Linked DNA regions of Homo sapiens: region 1 is linked to region 2. The links are contacts of gene promoters, found by promoter capture Hi-C in human tissues and cell types (Jung and others, 2019). All regions are on one chromosome and are shown on one strand. Each heading gives the region's core, a stretch centred on a gene start or on the middle of the fragment in contact. The rest is flanking DNA. Distances are from core to core; before and after follow the strand shown. Region 1 overlaps RNF24 (ring finger protein 24). Region 2 holds the start of ADAM33 (ADAM metallopeptidase domain 33).

Evidence for each region. Contacts are between HindIII fragments. The study calls those that stand out against the background at their distance.
Region 1: a contact is called between a fragment that was not itself captured here and the fragment with the promoter of ADAM33 in region 2, in 1 of the 25 tissues and cell types used here (dorsolateral prefrontal cortex).

The regions. Positions count from the first base shown.
Region 1 is chr20:4,005,271-4,010,536 of GRCh38, forward strand. All of the region lies in intron 1 of RNF24 (ring finger protein 24), which reads right to left. Among named protein-coding and RNA genes, the nearest start is that of RNF24, 7.7 kb to the right of the region's middle. The HindIII fragment of the contact is 5,241 bases long and covers 564-5,266 here.
Region 2 is chr20:3,680,499-3,685,886 of GRCh38, forward strand. It overlaps ADAM33 (ADAM metallopeptidase domain 33), which reads right to left and starts at 1,512. Exons shown (of 22, transcript NM_025220.5): 1 at 1,410-1,512. The coding sequence starts at 1,506. RefSeq lists an enhancer at 937-1,830. The HindIII fragment of the contact is 20,528 bases long and covers 1-5,388 here.

The sequences.
Region 1 (5,266 bases), core at 1,934-4,433, 330 kb after region 2:
TAGGTTAACCAATATGAAAGATGATTTTCTGAGTATAATATTGCCCCTGGCTATTGATATACTGTTCTGTGATTTAAGAAAAAAAAAATCTTACTACGCCGAAAATTCCATCTGCCCTGTTTACAGAGATAATCGACAAGTTTGAGTAAAAGCCTTTATTTAATTATAGCCATGCATGAGATTTCCAACACATTTCTGAAGAAGTTTTGCAACTTGTTTCATGCTGAAGAAAATGAATGAAAGCCTACACCTTTGATTTCCCTTCCCACCCATTTCCCACAAACTACATTAACTCATAATTTGACGTTTCATTATCTGTCAACTTTTTTCATTCAGTCCAAGATAAAGAGACTATTTAGATATAATATTTAGGTTCTATTTCAAATTTATATCACTGAGCATAATTTCACATGCTCAGATTTGGGAAGGAACAATAAAGAGATACAGGTAGCTATAATTTTTTTTTGGTTTGCCAAGATGAACTTAATAAACTTAACAGATACTGCAGCACCATTCAATCTGCACATTTGAAAAAAAAATTAAGGCAACATAAAGCATACTGATAGACAGCAGTGAAACTATTAATTTTGAGAATTCAATAAACACTGTCATCAAATGAACTGAATGCTCATTATTCTTACAGTATGATATTTGCACTTATTTTGCTGTCAATTAAACAATTATGATATTAAATCTGCTAAAGGAAGTGAAGAACTGTATCTGATACAAGCACCTGTCTAATCGGGAAAACATAAGTACCATCAAAATGAGAGACAAGCTAAGACTACATACATAATTAACCTTCTATAGAATCTATGGTTTATGGCTAGGTGTGGTGGCTCACATTTGTAATCCCCGCACTCTAGGAGGCTGAGGCGGGTAGAACACCTGAGGTCAAGACCAGCCTGGCCAACATGGTGAAACCCTGTCTCTACTAAAAATACAAAAATTAGCTGAGTGTGGTGGCGCATGCCTGTAATCCTAGCTACTTGGGAGGCTGAGGCAGAAGAATCGCTTGAACCCAGGAGGCAGAGGTTGCGGTGAGCAGAAAGAGCACCACTGCACTCCAGCCTGGGTGACAGAGCAAGTCTCTGTCTCAAAAAAAAAAAAAAGTCTATGGTTTACACAGGAGCAAGCTTTACAACAAGATGGAAAAATTTTCCTAATTCAAATGATCAAAACTTTAGAAGATGACAACAAAAGGAACGGGCAAACCTCACTTTAAGAAAAGTTGACAAATAAAAACAGGAACTTTAAAAGCAGGTAACCTGGAAGTTACTTACAATATAAAAACATTCACTACAGTTCATTGCAACTTTAATACACCTAACAGTAGTGAATCCATAAAAATTCAAATTACATTAAATTTCCAGAGCAAATTTGTAACACGAGGTTCACTTGTAACATTATCTAAATAGCAGTTTCCTTTCCCTTGCCACTGCAGGCTTTCTCCAACTCCCTGGGGTACTATGGAGGGCCAGTGCAACTCTCTGGTATCAGACTATCCTTAGGGCACATGGAGGGCCCAGGCCAGCTTTCCCAAGAGTGGCCAGCCAAAAGCAAGGCCACTGGCCAGCTATTCTTGGGCCAGCTGGCATGGAACAAAGTGTCTGGTTCCTACCTCCAAAGCACAGGAGGCTCTGCCAGCTGGCTTTCAAAGGACTGCACTAGTTGGAATGCTCACAGTTCCTTTCAAACCATCTGGCATTCTTTTAGAACCCTCAATTTACCCAACACTACATTCTGAGATTTGAATTGCTCAGATAATTGAAGGAGTCCCCACTACCTACCTAGGTAAGAAAAGAAAGAGGCAGAGCAAACGCTAAGTCAATTACTTCAAGAAACAGTTTCTACAACTAAAAACTGCTCTCAAGTTTAGCTTGTATATTTTGTATTTTAAAATCTAAAATATTCCCATGATTATTAAGCAAACTTTCAAAGTAAAAACCAAGACAAGTAATAAGAGAATAAGCTAAAACAGACTATTTAACATGCAGAAAAGCTGTAGGAATCCCTTAGGGTTAGAAGTACCTGACTCTCCCTAGCCTGAACTTCTACAGAGCCTGTCTGTATTTTTTATGTGGTCCTCAGAATATACTTCGTACTGCTACATATATTTACCCTCCCAGCTAGCTAGTAGATGAAAAGAACATTGTCTTATAGCTGTTTCAAAAGAAAAAAAAATCTGTTGATGATATATTGGGTGTTTTTAAAGCTCCATTTCCAGAAATAAGAAAACTTAATGTGGAATAACATGAAGAAAGAACCTCACCTCTGAGAAAACCAAATAAACAAAGAACAGGACTTGGCTTGAAATAAAAATATTTTATCAAGTGATCAAAATGATTTATTGGCTGGGCATGGTGGCTCCTGCCTGTAATCCTAGCACTTTGGGAGGTGCTGGTAGGGTCACTTGAGCCCAGGAGTTTGAGACCAGCCTGGGCAACATAGTGAGACCCTGTCTCTACAAAAAAAAAAAAAAAAAAAGAAAAAAAATTAGCCTGGCATGCTGGTGTGTGCCTGTGGTCGCAGCTACTTGGGAGGTTGAGGTGGGAGGATTGTTTGAGCCCTGGAGGTTAAGGCTGCAGTGAGTTGGAGATCACACCACTGCACTGCAGCCTGGGCGACAGAACAAGACTCTCTCTCTTAAAAACAAACACACCCCCGCCCCCCACAAAACCAAGAACAGCTGAATCATCATATTGATAGCCCATATACCCTAGGAGATATAGTATTTTGAACAAAAATATTATAGAGACCAAGTCAGAGTCAAATATTATAAACTGGAGGAGGCTATAATAATTACTATTATTTTTCATTGAGTTTACTCCCAAGACGAGTACTGAGTTTCGTGTTTTACATATTATCTCATTTGGAACACAAAACAAACACATGAGGTAGGAACTATTATTAACCACATTACAAATGAAGAAAGAGAGAGGTTAGGAAACCTGCTGGAGGTCACATAGCAAAAAGTGAAAGAGCTGGAATTCAACTCCAAGCAGTCTGATGCCAGAGTCCAGGTGCAAGACTGCAAATATATATATATATTATATATATAATATATATATTATACATGTAATATGTATAATATATATATTATATATATAATATATATATTATATATGTAATATGTATAATATATATATTATATATAATATATAATATGTATAATATATATAATATATAATATATAATATGTATAATATATAATATAATATAATATATATATTATACATATTATATATTATATATATATTATTTATATATATTATATATATATATATTTTTTTTTGAGACAGAGTCTCGCTCTGTCACCCAGGCTGGAGTGCAATGGCACAATCTTGGCTCACTGCAACCTCCACCTCCCAGGTTCAAGCAATTCTCTGTCTCAGCCTCCCGAGTAACTGGGATTACAGGCACCCGCCACCACACCCGGCTAATTTGTTGTATTTTTAGTAAGATGGGGTTTCACCATCTTGGCCAGGCTGGTCTTGAACTCCTGACCTCATGATCCACCCGCCTTGACCTCCCAAAGTGCTGGGATTACAGGCATAAGCCACCATGCCCGGCCCAAGACTGCCAATATTAAGTCATACTTATGAAAGAATGAAATGTAACATAGGGCAAAATTTGATCATTAATATATTCTTCATAATTGTTTCAATTCTTAAGTGTAGCAAAAAATGGTGAGTAATTAAAAAACATGGATTCTCTTGTTAGAAATTTTTAAAAATCAAAAGCTATTTTACCAGGTCAGTTGTGCCTCTTTTGCCCATGTACTGAGTAGACACTTGTGCCACCTGCTGTCCTAGGGGACAGAGTGGTAAACAGGACAGATGAGGTCCTTGCCTTCCTGGAGCTGACCTTCTATTAGGGGTAAGTCACACAAAAATTATTAAACAACAGAATTTCAGAGGGTGGTACGTACTATAGAGGAGGTAGGGAAGGCACGTAAACTTCTCTTTTGAGAGACTTAACCATGTAGGTAAATAGAAAGGGATAGAGGAGGGTCAGGGAAAAGTTGTTTGCTGAAGCTTATTCTGATTTTAAAGATGGGCAACGTCACGGCATATGTGTATGCTGACATGGATAGCCCCCTGGAGAGTTGCTGATGATGCAAGAGAGAGGGCAAAAATGCTAAAGCTGTGAGATATGAGGGGGCATGAGGTATAGAAGATGTGAGGAGGAACACAGTAGAAAGGGGAGCTTGCCTCCGACAGGAGACAGAAAACATGGGTCTAAGGAAGGCAGATTTCTACATTTGGTTGGGGGGAAGATGAGTGGTTTCTGTCTGATATCTCCTAAACCCTCAATGAACTATGAGGTCAGCTTATCTGAGTAGGAGGGGTGGGTTGCTGATAAGTTTAAGGAGTGGAGAGAAGTTATGAAATAGTGATAGGCAAAAAGATCTTATTAAGATTCAATGGTAGCTTTGCCGGGCAGTGCTGAGTGTCTACTTCGGATTTTTGGTCATGAATCTGAAGTTCTCTTGTAATATCCAGCCACTTGGGTGGTGTCATGGAAAAGCCAAATGAATGATAAAGCAGCTATAAATAGAAAAAAAAGGGTTTTTAATTTTAAAATTTTTAAAGAGTAAACAAAGGATGTTTTAAAAATATGTATCCAAATTAGCCAGGCATGGTGGCGGGCACCTGTAATCCCAGCAACTGGGGAGGCTGAGGCAGGAGAATCGCTTGAACCTGGGAGGCAGAGGTCGAAGTGAGCCGAGATCACGCCACTGCACTCCAGCCTGGGTGAAAGAGTGAGACCCTGTCACAAACAAACAAACAAACAAACAAACAAACAAACAAACAAACAAGGCCAGATGCGGTGGCTCATGCCTGCAATCCCAGCACTTTGGGAGGCTGAGGTAGGCAGATCACGAGGTCAGGATTTCGAGACCAGCCTGACCAACATAGTGAAACCCCGTCTCCACCAGAAATACAAAAATTAGCTGGACATGGTGGCGCACGCCTGTAGTCCCAGCTACTCGGGAGGCTGAGGCAGGAGAATTGCTTGAACCCGGGAAGCAGAGGTTGTGGTGAGCCGAGATTGCACCACTGTACTCCAGCCTAGGTGACAGAGTGAGACTCCATCTCAAAATAATAATAATAATATGTATCCATGAGATAAACACAAAAATACTGACAATGTTCTGTGAAGCTGTGATTTATGCAGCTCCTTTTGCTTCCATCTTCTCATCACAGAAATTCTTGCAAACAATATATTTGTCACATTTAATAATGACATATTTAATCATGAA
Region 2 (5,388 bases), core at 262-2,761:
CAAACATCAAAGACCCTTCCTCCAAGAAGCCCTCCTTGATTGGATGAGTGAATTGCCATCAGGCAGATGAGGGCCGAGAGGAGTCTGCCACCTTGGAAAGGAGGCTAGAGGGGCCAGTGCAGGGAGGGCTCTGAGTGGATGTGGGGGAGGGGAAGGAGGGGAGGTCTCTCAGCCCAGAGAGCACTTAACTGAGAGTAGAGAACCAAGCTTTGCTGCTCCTAGGCCTCTAAGGGTTTGGGGAAGAGGTAGGGTGGGCCCGGGCACAGGTGTGGTGTGGGTGCAGTGTGGTGTGTGGGTGCTGTCCACATGGCCTTGCGCGCACGTGCTGGCCACGGGCACCCTGACCCCAATGAGGGAGAGAGGGGCAGAGCTGGAGCTGGAGCTGGAGCTCCGGTGACCGGGTGAATGGGGGTGGAACCCGAGGGAGCCAGGCTGGTATTGGGCACATAGACGCCCCTCTCCCAGGGGTCCCATCACCTCCCCTGACCCCAGGATAGGGCTCAGAGGGGAGGGAGCAGTGGACCGCCTGGGGCCCTCCCCTGGGGCCAGAACAGACCAGGCCCCTGTACCTGTTTGGTCCCCACACAGTGCTGTGGAAGCCACCGCCCAGTCTGCATAGCACAGCCCAGCCCCGCATGCCCCCTCCCTGGTTGCCCTCCCTGTTCCCGGCCAGGCACTTGCTGTGCAGGACTGGCTAATCCTCCCACCCGCTTGCAGAGGTTGTTCCAGCCCCATCTTAACATCTTTGTTTGGAGGGGTTACCCCGAGGAGACAGCTGCAGTCTTCCCAGAGCACTGCTAAACAGACACCTTCTATCTGGAGAGGCCCTTCTCTATCTCACCAAACAAGGCAACAATATAAACAACATACACACTGCCCTGCTGCCCTGGGAGGAGGGACGAGGGGTGAGCAGGGTGGAGGCCACAGCTAGTTCTGCAGCCTGAGAGCAAAGCAGGGACTCTGGGGGACTCTTGGGCATGGGGGCTTCCTAGAGGACGGAGCCCCGCTGAGTCCTAAGGGGTGGAGGAGCAGGAGCGGGTCACACGGTGGCCTGCGGATGGAAGCTGGTTGTGAGAGCGAGAATCCAGGAAGAGGGGGCTACGGCTATGGGCTGGGGGCTGGGCTGCCCCCGAGGGGGAGGGAGCCATGCCCTCTGCTTTGCCAGCGGAGTGGCAGCCGGGCAGTGTGGGCAAGTCCGGGCCCGGGGCCAGCCCAAGCACACTTGAGCGTCCCTGGGCAGGTCCCACGGAGACCCCCCCAAAGAGTCCCCACGCCCTGACCTACTGGCCGTATGGTGCCGGGGCCGTGAGACCCTCCGCGCGCTGACCCGAGCTCTGAGCAGAACCCATCCCCGCCACCACCACCGCGCCTAGCCTGCCCCTCAGGGCGCACCCCGCCCGCGTCCTCACCTTGAAGCACCCCGGCGCCTGGCACTGGCCAGAGCAGCAGCAGTAGTAGCAGCAGCAGCAACGGGGTCCCCCGAGCTCTCCGGGGCCTCCAGCCCATAGCTGTGAGCTCCTCGGCCTCTAGGCAGCGGCTCGCAACTCCGGCTCCGCCCAGGCTGGATTGCGGCCGACCCGTGCCCGGTGCAGCCTCAGGCCGCCGCCTTCGGACCTTCCCGCCCCCACCTCCCACCGCCCGCCCTCGCTCCCGCCTCCCCTCCCCGCCAACCCCGCTCGGAGCCTGGCCAGGGGCCCCGACGGCGCGCGCCATGGGGGAGCCGGGTCGCCACTCCCGGACCGCCGCCCCTCGAGGGGGTGGAGCTGGGCGGAGGAGGGAATCCGTGCGGCCCCTCGGATGACCGGCCCGAGCCGTCCCTCCCCGTCGGTCTCAGAGGGCCTCTACTCCTGAGAGGAGGAGAGAACCGCTGGGAAGGTTCTTGGAGGACCGCGGCGTGGTGGGATGAGGCGGTGGGCAAAGGCCGCCTCTCGCTGCTGAAGTTGGCCCCAGGAGCGCGATCTTCCGTGGTCTCCTGGGGCCGATCTCTGTCCCCTCCTTGCTACCCGTCCTGCCCCGAGGGTGCCCTGGCGGAGGTTGAGTCGGGTCATCCACCTGCACTGGGTGCCCCCAAGGATAGGAAGGTTCAGGCAACCGGCTGCCGCTGTCTTGGGGGCTTCATTGCTGGGCAAAGGCGATGCAGCAGACGGAGACAACCTTTCTTCCCTGGCGGTGGCCAGAGGGCAGAATTGCATAAAAGCTGCAGACTCCCAGGCCTGGGAGACCCTTTCGGCCTCAGTAACATCTGTTTCATGTTTTAAACTTTTGTTTTCCTACTCGGTGCAAATTTGGATGAGATGTTAACTTTTTTTTTTTTTTTTTTTTTGAGATGGAGTCTCCCTCTGTCGCCAGGCTGGAGTGCAGCGGCGCGATCTTGGCTCACTGCAACCTCCGACTCCCTGGTTCAAGCGATTCTCCTGCCTCAGCCTCCCGAGTAGCTGGGACTACAGGCGCGCGCTACCACCCCCAGCTAACTTTTGTATTTTTAGCAGAGACGAGGTTTCACCATTTTGGCCAGGATGGTCTCAATCTCCTGATCTCGTGATCCACCCGCCTCGGCCTCTCAAAGCGCTGGGATTACAGGCATGAGCCACCGCGCCCGGCCGGAGATGTTAACTTTTAAGCAAATCTTTTTTTTTTTTTTTTTTTTTTGAGACAGAGTTTCTCTCTTGTTACCCAGACTGGAGTGCAATGGCATGATCTGGGCTCACTGCAACCTCTGCCTCCCAGATTCAAGTGATTCTTCTGCCTCAGCCTCCCGAGTAGCTGGGATTACAGGCATTCGCCACCACGCCTGGCTAATTTTGTATTTTTAGTAGAGATGGGGTTTCTCCATGTTGGTCAGGCTGGTCTCGAACTCCCGACCTCAGGTGATCTGCCCGCCTCGGCCTCCCAAAGCGCTGGAATTACAGGCGTGAGACACCGCACCCAGCCTACTTTTAAGTAAATCTATTTGTTTTTGAGAATTTGGAATGTAGTAATTTGGTTAGTGAAAGTTCGAGCAGTGAGAGAAACCTACATTCACATATCTCAAAATCAAAAAGTACAGAAAGCATAGGGAAAAGTCTCCGTGCTCTTAGCCCTCCTCACCAACAGGAAACCAATATGATTAGTTTCTTTCATAGGCTTTTAGATTATTTTTTCACACTCAAGACAATACAGACATATTTTTTTCTCTTATTAACGTTTTTCTGCACTTTGATTTTCTTTTTTTTTTTTTTGGTCGCTTAATACACCTTAGATATCAGTGCGTTTAGAGGGTCCTTGTTGTTCTTATGATTATTATTTAGAGACAGGGTCTCACTCTGTCACCCACGCTAGAGGACAGTGGCCTGATCATGCCTCATTGCAGCCTTGAAATCCTGGGCTCAAGGTATCCTCCCACCTCAGCCTCCTGAGTAGCTGGAACTACAGGCACACGGCACCAGGCCCAGCTAAAATTTTTAATTTTTCTGTAGACAGGGGGGTCTCACTTTGTTTCCCAGGCTGGTCTCAAACTCCTGGTCTTGGCCAGGCGCAGTGTCTCATGCCTGTAATCCCAGCACTTTGGGAGGCCGAGGCGGGCAGATCACTGGAGGTCAGGAGTTCAAGACCAGTCTGGCCAACATGGTGAAACCCCATCTCTACTAAAAATACAAAAATTAGCCGGGCATGGTGGTGAGTGCCTGTAGTTCCAGCTACTTGGGAGGCTGAGGCAGGAAAATCGCTTGAACTCAGAAGGTGGAGGTTGCAGCGAGCCGAGATCATGCCATTGCACTCCAGCCTGGGCAACAAGAGCGAAACTCCGTCTCAAAAAATAAAAATAAAAATAAAAAGAACTCCTGATCTTAAGTGATCCTCCTGCCTCAGCTTCTCAAATCGCTGGAATTACAGGAGTGAGTCACCACAGCTGTCCAGCTACGAGATTATTACTTATTATTACTACTTTGGATTTTCAAATCAACTTCATTAAGGTATAATTTACACACAATAAAATGCACTTATTTTAAGTGGCCAGTAAGATGAGTTTCGATAAGTGTATATAACTACATAAGCATCACTATAATGCAGACACATTCCCTCACTCACAGAAAGAGCCCTGTGCCCTTCCAGCCAAACTTGCCCACTCCCAACCCCAGACAGCCACTGATCTGTTGTTCTCTGTCTATAGATAAGTTTTGCCTGTTCTAGAATTTCATATAAATGGAATCATGCGGCATGCACTCTTCTGTGTCTGGCTTCCTTCCCTCTTTCCGATGTTTTTGAGATTCATTTACACTATTTTGCATATCAATAGTTTGTTCCTTCGTATTGCTGAATAGTGTTCGGTGGTTTGAGGGAACCACAGTTTCTCTACTCACCAGTGCACCATAGGGTTATTTTCCAGTTAGGGGCTCTTATAATTGGAACTATATTTGCACAGAGAGAGAGAGAGGAAGAAAGAGGGAGAGAGATATTTATTATAGCAATTGGCTCACGTGATTATGGAGGCCAAAAAGTTCCCGAATCTGCCATCTGCAAGCTGGAGAACGAGGAAAGCCAGTGGTGTGATTCAGTTTGAGTTCAAAGGCCTGAGAACCAGGAGCACCAGTATGGAGGTGGCTCGAGCTCAGAACAAGTTGGGGACAGGAAAGCAGAGCAGCGCCCCAGAGCAGCCCCTCAGCGACACCTCTTCAGTAAAGCAAGGCTGAACACAGAGGGGCTGGCTTCAGTGTGGATGTCAGGTACAGAAGGCAGCTCGAGGAGCTACTCTGGCGTTCTTGCTTACTGGTATTCTTACCTCGAACTGGCCAACTCCTACTTAAACTGCAGGCCATGGCTTTAATGTCCTGTCATTCAGAGGCTGTCCCTTACCCAAAGCCAGGTTAGCATCCCCTGACTGACACTTCTCCCTGCAACACGTTTCAGAAGGCCCTGTAGTCGTCCACTTCCCTGTCTCTCTCCCCAAGCTCCTGAGCTCCATGTGGTCTGGGAATATGTGTGTTGCTCACTTCCTAGCACAGTCAGTGCTAATAACTGACTGTAGAGGGGACACAGTCGAAAAGCCACATGGGGATCAGAGTCATCCTTACACAGTTGACACCTCCCAAACCCAGATGAGCTGTGTCCAAGTGCAGGTCAGAGGAATTTTCTGCCGAAGTCTCTGAGAAAGGGTTTATTTACATTTTGAGGTTGCAGGGGAGGAGATGAGGCCATCAAACCAAAGCTGAGGAAGAGGGATCCTAGGATGCACCGAGCAGCTCCGGGGGCGCCTGACAGCACCTGGGAAAGATGGCTTCTCCACTGGCTTGTTGGCGTCACCCTCCAGAGGGGCATCAGGAAATGTCCTGGGAACCAGGCAAACCAGTGAGCATTAACCCTTAGGAGTGCTTGGCATGGGTGACACCCACCATCTGTAAACACGACTTCTCC